Regions from separate parts of the Homo sapiens genome. Here region 2 is linked to region 1. Evidence: promoter capture Hi-C in 16 types of primary human blood cells and fetal thymus (Javierre and others, 2016). All regions are on one chromosome and are shown on one strand. Each heading gives the region's core, a stretch centred on a gene start or on the middle of the fragment in contact. The rest is flanking DNA. Distances are from core to core; before and after follow the strand shown. Region 1 has its middle 7.4 kb from the start of PLXNA1. Region 2 holds the start of UROC1 (urocanate hydratase 1).

Region 1 (3,592 bases), core at 266-2,765:
CTGCTGGCCACTGGCTTGGTTCATGCCCACACAGCCCTTCTGCTCCTGGTGGCCTTGGCAGCTCCAAGCTTTTCTTTCCTCATAGGTCCAGGAAAGTTCCCAGAATGAAGCCTCAGTGAACCAGATTGGATCGTGTAGCCCCCTTGAACCCATCACTGTGGCCCTATAGTTGGCTGAGATCAGGGACCTCTCCAGAGTGAGTAGGTGGAACTGGGGAAGTGGTTACCCCAAAGAAAATCCAGGTGCAGTTTTCAAACAAGTGGGCCTGGATGCAGGACAGGTCAAACCCACCAGGAGCCACTGCAGCCCCGATCTGCACCTCCACAGCCAGCACAGCCCACCCGCTGTCCACCTTCCGCCACATCCAGCTGGGACCAAATGCTCAGCACGCACAAGGCAGGAATCCACGTGCTTATCCGCTGAGCTCCTCTATGAGGTGGGCAGACTGCTGTCACCCATCTACACATGTGGACACAGCAGCAAGTCAGGGGCTGTTCTGACCAAGGCCACAGCCAGGTGGTGGTGGGGCCCAGTTTCCAGAGCAAGTGGTGTGGCTCCCCTGTGGGCGCTGCAACCCATGTTCTGCCATGTGGCACAGTGGGTAGTGTGGAGATGCCTGCGCTCAGGACCCTGTGGGGCCAACAGGCCACCCTACAGCCATGTCTCCCTGGTACCCAGTGCTCTTTGCACACTGTACTCTTGCTCCAAAGACACCTCCACATCAGGCCTTTCCTCATGCTGTGCTCCTGGCCAAGAGGGTCCCCACCTGGCCCTTTCCTCTTTATTTTTATTTTTATTTTTTTTTAATTTTGTAGAGATGGGGTCTACCTATCTTGGCCAGGCTGGTCTCAAACTCTTGGACTCAAGTGATCCTCCTGCCTCAGCCTCCCAAAGTGCTGGGATTAAGGCGTAAGCCACTGTGTCCAGCCACCATTCATTTTTCAAGGCCCAAGCTCCTTCTCCCCTCCTCCAGGAAGCCTCTCTGCAGCCCCCACCCCACCCCAGGAGCCCTCCTTGGCTTCCTTTCCCTTTGACCACTCTGGGCGTAGGTCTGTCACCACCCCACTCCCGGTCTGGAGACAAAACCAGGTCAATGTCAATACTTTATTGCACAAAAGACAGAGTAGCAGAGTCCCTCCCCCTGCCCCCCACCTGCCCACACACATGCAAGCAATCCCTGGAGACTGGGGGGACTTGGCACTGCCTCCTCCTGGGGCTGCAAACTCAGATGACTTCAGGGGCCAAGTAGTTGATGGAGGTAAATAGTGAGATGGGCCAAATGCCGGAGCAGGCCAGGGCTGCAGCAGCAGTAATCGGTGGAATGCATGCACATGTTATTGGGAGAGTGTGGAGTGAACAAGACCTTTCAAAAGTGTGAAGATCCCAGCCAGCAGGCCTCCAGTTTGCAGTCCGTGGCTCAGTCCAGCTCCTACCACTCCCAGAATGCTGCTTGTCATCCTGGGGGTCACAGTCAGGTCACCAAAGATGTTCCCAAGTATGGGAGCCCTCTCCAGGGCCATAGCCTCTGGAAAAGCCATCCCTGGCACCCTCTTTTTAAGGCCTAGCAGCCCTTGCCCCCACTGCCCTGCCAAGAAGCAGGGCAGCAAGAGATCAGCCTCCTGCTTCCCTGGAGATGAGGGAAGCAACCCAAGTTTTCTCATTGTGCTAAAAACACCTGGGTTAAAGTGGGGATGCTGGGTTTCCCTCCCCCATTCCTGATGTAATGGGGCAGCACCCCTCTCTGTCTACCATATGGGGTCAGGAGAGGCCAGCTGTGAAACAGAAGATTGAAATGTAATCCAGAGTCTCAACATACAATACCCCAAACTTTCAAGATCCAATAAGAAAATCACCTGTCATAGCAAGAACCAGAGAAATGTCAGTTGTACCAGAAAATACAATCAGCATACACCAATACTGGTATATGTTGAACAGGAAGGAATATCAGGATTACCTGATGAGGCTTTTAAAGCAGCCATCCTAAAGGTGCTTTGATGAGCAATTATGAACATGCTTGAAACAAATGAAAATAAAGAATGTTTCAGCAAGGAAATAGAAGTTATAAAGAGAACCAAATGGACACTTTAGAATTTTTTAAAAACATACAATAATCAGAATAAAAACTTAATCGATAACTCCAAAGCAGAACAGAGGGGACAAAGGAAAGATGCAGTGAACCTGGAGATAGAGCAATATAAACCACCCAGTCTGAAACAGAGAGAAAATAGACTAGGGGTGGGAGAAAAGAGTTCTCTGAGAGATAACAAAAGATCTAATATTCATGTCATCTAATTGCCAGGAGGAGAAGAGAAAGAGGACAAAGCCGAAAAAATATTGAAGAAGCAATCTCCTAAACTTGGCAAAAGACATAAATGTAAGGATTTAAGAAGCTGAATGAACTCCAAACGTTATAAACCCAAGGAAATCCACACCAAGACATATCACAGTCAGACTTCCAAAAACTAAACAACAACAAACCCCAATTTTGAAAGCAGCCACGTAACCACCTTCCAAAAAACATGGATGTCTCATCAGAAAGCATGGAGGCAAGAAATAAGTGGAACGTTTTTAAGTGCCATAAGAAAAGAGCTGTCAACCATAAATTCTATACCCAGTGAAACTATCCCTCAGGAATGAGGAGGAATCAAGACCTTCTCAGGTGAAGGGAAAAGTAAGTTTGTTGCCAGCAAACCTACTGTGAAAGGAGGGCCAAAGGAAGTTCTTCTCATGGAAAGAAAGTGATAAGGAAGGAATCTTGAGACATCAGGAAGAAAGTACAATGGAAAGAGCAAAACTATGGGTAAATACAATGGACCCCTTCTCTGAAGGTTTCTAAGTTACATTTGGTGGTTGAAGCAAAAATTATAGCATTGTCGAATGTCTCAATGTATGTAGAAAAAATATTTAGGATAATTATATTATAAATGGAAGGGGAAAAGGGACACAAAGAGAGGGAAGCTTTCTACATGTCACTCGAAATGGTAAAATGTTGATGGCAGTAGACTGTGATAAGTACATATGTATAATGCAGTATGGCAGCCACTAGAAATCTATACAAAGATATACACTAAAAACACTGTACAAAAACCAAAATAGATGCTTAAATATGTCCAAGTAACACTCAGCAAGGCAAAAAAAAGAAAATAGAGAAACACCACCACCAACAAACACAGGAACAAACAAAGCAAAAAATAAAACAGCAGACTGAAGTTATGTCAGTAATTACAGAAAATGTAAATGGCATAATTCCATTTATATAACATTTTTGAAATAACAAAATCATAGAGATGGAGAGGAGATTGGCGGCTGCCAGGAGCTGGGGTAGGGGGGTGATTGTCACTGTGAAAGGGAGTACCAGGGGGTCTCCATGGAGAGGGAACAGCTCTGTATCCTGGTTACAGGGACAGAAACATGGATCTCCATGTGTGATAAAGTGACACAGGGCTTGACACCCTTGTCACACCAGTGCCAATGTCCCTTTTCTGATGTGTGGTGGTTATGTAGAATGTGACCATTGGGGGAAACTGGGTGAAGGGTACACAGGCTTCTCTCTCTATTATCTTTCCAACTTCCTGTGAATCTGTAATTGTTA
Region 2 (3,648 bases), core at 720-3,219, 460 kb after region 1:
CAGCCAGCTTTTCAGCTGGGTGTCTCCTCCAGCTAGGTGTCCCAGTCAGCTCAACTCTGACACCACCTGCTGGGGATGGCATGAGATCCCACAGGTTGAGGGCTCAGTCCCACAAGATCGCCCCCAACTTCAGATGCTGCAAGCACAGGTTGTGGTCTGTGGACTGTGGTTCTGACCACAGTCTGGCTATAAACTGGGGATTCCAGGGTTCATTTAATTTGCTACTGTGGCTCACAAAACTCAGAGAAACCCTTTATTATTGATGTGTACTGGTTTCTTATAAAGGACATTACGAAGAATATAGATGAACAGCCAGATGGACAAGATGCCCAGGATGAGGTGTGGGGAAGATGCACAGAGCTTCTGTGCCTTCTCTGGGCATGACCCTCTCCAGGAATCTGCCTGTGCTCAGCTGCTGGGAAGCTCTTCTGAACCCTGTCCTTTTGGGTTTTTAGGGAGGCTTCATGACCTACACAACTGACTAAATCATTGGCCTTTGGTGATCAACTCAGCCTTCAGCTTCTCTCTCCTCCCCAAAGTCAGGAGGCTGCTGAAGGTTCCAACCCTCTAATCACAGGTTGGTTCCCTTGTCAACCAGCCCCAATCCTGAGGATATCAGGGATCTGCCAAGAGTCCCCTCGGTAGAACAAAAGAGCTCTGCTCCTGTCACCCAGGAAATTCCAACAGCTTTAGGAGCTCTGTGTCAGGAACCAGGGTCAAAGATCAAACGTTAGAACAAAAGATTCTCCTAGAGTTTCCATCTACCAGGGCCTCAGGAGCTTTGTGGCAGGAACAGGGAAGAGATCAAAGCCTGTTTCTTATTCTATCACAGTCTCACATCACCCCCATTAAGGGCGCCCTCCCTGTGCTGCAAAAGGGCCAGCGTGGATGGGAGGGTGCTAGAGCCAGACCTCTGGGTCCTCAGGGCTCCAATCTCAGCTCCCCCCATGACTGGCTGTGTAACCCTGGGCAAGTCCCATCCCTCTCTCCACCTGTTTCTTCATCCTTAAAATGGGGGCAACGAACCCCTCAGGGCTGACCCACAGGATGCTCTCAGAGGAGCAAGCACTCAGAAGGCAGCTGGGCTTCCACGTGCGGGCCCTGCACTGGGGCTTGCCTAACGGCACTCCACCGCCTTGCAGCTGAGCTGTCCATCGCCACCCACTTGTGTAGACAGGACATGGCCAAAGGCCACAGGGCTGGTCAGGCTCGCACTGGGTACACCCAGGTGTGTTGCTTCCCCCGGACTGCTGGAATTCAGCTTCGGCCACTTCTTGGCTGTGTGAGGGAGACCCGGGCCTTGGTTTCTCCATCCATAGCATAGGGCTCATGAAGAGTGCTTTCTGGCAGAGTTGTTAACAGATTTGGGAATGAGGGTCATCCCTCAGGCAGGTCCTTCAAAAAGAGCTTTGGGAGGGGGTAGAGTGGTGTGCCCCCCAGCGGGAGCTGAAGAGAGCACACTTGCCACTGAGGGCCCCCACTGCACCTGTCACCCAGCCCTCCAGTGGGGAGCCAAGGAGGGCACACCTGCTGCTGGGTGCTCCCGCTCCACCTGTCACCCCACCCCCCAGCAGGAGGTAGCAGGAGGAGGGGCTCTACACTCTGTGTCCGGTTCAGTGTCACATGGCTTCCCATCTCCTCATCATCAAGATGCAGATCCCCACATCGAATGTTTGGTGTGGTGCACCAGAGGGCTGCCACAGCACACCCCAGCATTAGAGCCCCACCCACCCCCAAAGCTGTCCCGGACAGCACAGCCCTCCTGGAAGGGGAAGTGAGCCCAGCCCCCCTCCCCACTGTGAAGCCTGCCCTCCCGCAGAGCAATGTCCTCCCCAGGTCAGCGCTGCAAGTGCCCTACCTGAGGCCAGTGACCCTCCGACCTGCACATGGCTCCCTGCACAGGCCAGGCGCCCAATGAGAGGCTGGAGGAGGTGGCCCTGGGGCTAGAGGTCCCTGCCCTATCTGCCCAGTCTCTTCCTGGCCTCCCCACAGTGCTGGCCTCTGCCTCCATCTCAGTCACACATGTCTAGCCTCCAGGCGCTGTGCTCTGGCCTGCCCCTGCGGCCCCTCCCAGAGAACCGGGGACGCCAGGCTGGGGTGCCCCATGCCCCTGTCAGGACCCCCAGCCTCAGCCCTGTGGAGAAACAGGTAAGCAGTGGGCCCGTGCTCCCGAGGCCTTGGCCTCTAGGCATCCTCCAGGTGGTCCATAGTGAGCACCCAGGCTTCCTGCCCTCTTAGTGGGAGCTGCTCAGCCGCCCACCCTGGACTCCAGGGGCTCCAGCCTGTGCGGGTGCAATGCACAGTGGACTCTGTCTCTTGGATGCAGCCGCCCTTGGGTGCAGGATCGCCGTGCCTGTTTACAGATGAGGACCCTGAGGCTCAAGGTCAGCAGCCGGTCACTGGTGGCACTTTGGCCACCTCCAGTGGGAGGAGGCCTTGGGTGGGTGTGAAGTGTCCCACACCAAGCGCCGCGTCCACCCCAACACTCAGAACGTTTGCACACAGGTCAGCTCTTATTTTCATTTGCAAATGTCCCTCCCGCAAATCTCTGGAGAACGTGCGGCTGCATGGCTGAACCCTGTAGCTGGCAGGCAGTTGCCAGGGAAAGATGGGCTGAGGCCAGTATCCCCTCATCTAACAGCAAAGCAGTCCAGGGATGGTGCACGCTTGCCAGTGGTGCCCTGTCTGGGAACCTCCCTTTTGTCATTTGTCAGCTTGAGATGAAAATGGTGACACCAGGGGGTTGTGGAGAAGAGTAATGAAATAAAGTAGGTGACACGGTTATATAGACTTTCCTCCTACTTTTTACTGGAAACTACTCAAGATTTTCAGAAACAGTAGAGAAGTGGAAACTGCAAACAAGCATAAAGATTAAAAGAGGAATCCTACCTCCCCAGGTAAAGATGGCTGCCCTTTGCACCGGAGCCCACTGGACTTTTCTGGAGCCACCCACAGAGGCCTAACAGGACACAGTGGGGACAGTAGGGGTCACTCAGGGCAGAGCTGGCGCTGGGGAAGGGAGAAAGGGGAAGCAGGTTGGTGGGTGTGGGGGTGGAGGGGAGTTGGGGGGCTAGGAGGATGCTGGGGGTCCTTGTGGGAGTGGGGCACTGGGGGCAGGTGGAGCGGGTGCTGGAGGGAAAGGGAAATGGGGGAGGGGCCAGCAAGGTAGAGTAGGTAGTGGGCACTGGGGGGAGGGGGGAGGGTAGGTGGTGGGCACTGGGGGGTGGGAGGGTAGGTGGTGAGTTCTGGGGTGGGGGGATGGTAGGTGGTGGGTGCTGGGTGATGAGGGGGAGGGTAGGTGGTGGGTGCTGGGGTGATGAGGGTGAGGGTAGGTGGTGGGCGCTGGGGGTGGGAGGAGGCTAGTTGGTGGGTGCTGGGGGACGAGGGGGAAGGTAGGTGGTGGGTGCTGGGGTGACAAGGGGATGGGTAGGTGGTGGGCACTGGGGGGTGGGGGACATTAGGTGGTGGGTGCTGGGGTGATGAGGGGGTGGGTAGGTGGTGGGCGCTGGGGGGCAGGGGACAGTAGGTGGTGGGTGCTGGGAGTTGGGAGGATAGGTGGTGGGTGCTGGGGTGAGGAGGGGGTGGGTAGGTGGTGGGCGCTGGGGGGCAGGGGACAGTAGGTGGTGGGTGCTGGGAGTTGGGAGGATA

The links. The method cuts DNA at HindIII sites, captures the fragments that hold promoters and counts their contacts. A CHiCAGO score of 5 or more calls a contact.
Region 2: the fragment with the promoter of UROC1 here is called in contact with a fragment that was not itself captured in region 1 in 1 of 17 cell types (M2 macrophages); the score reaches 6.1 in M2 macrophages.

The regions. Positions count from the first base shown.
Region 1 is chr3:126,973,926-126,977,517 of GRCh38, reverse strand. No RefSeq gene overlaps it. Among named protein-coding and RNA genes, the nearest start is that of PLXNA1, 7.4 kb to the left of the region's middle. The HindIII fragment of the contact is 2,890 bases long and covers 71-2,960 here.
Region 2 is chr3:126,516,094-126,519,741 of GRCh38, reverse strand. UROC1 (urocanate hydratase 1) reads left to right here and starts at 1,969. Exons shown (of 20, transcript NM_144639.3): 1 at 1,969-2,148. The coding sequence starts at 2,023. The HindIII fragment of the contact is 15,536 bases long and covers 1-3,648 here.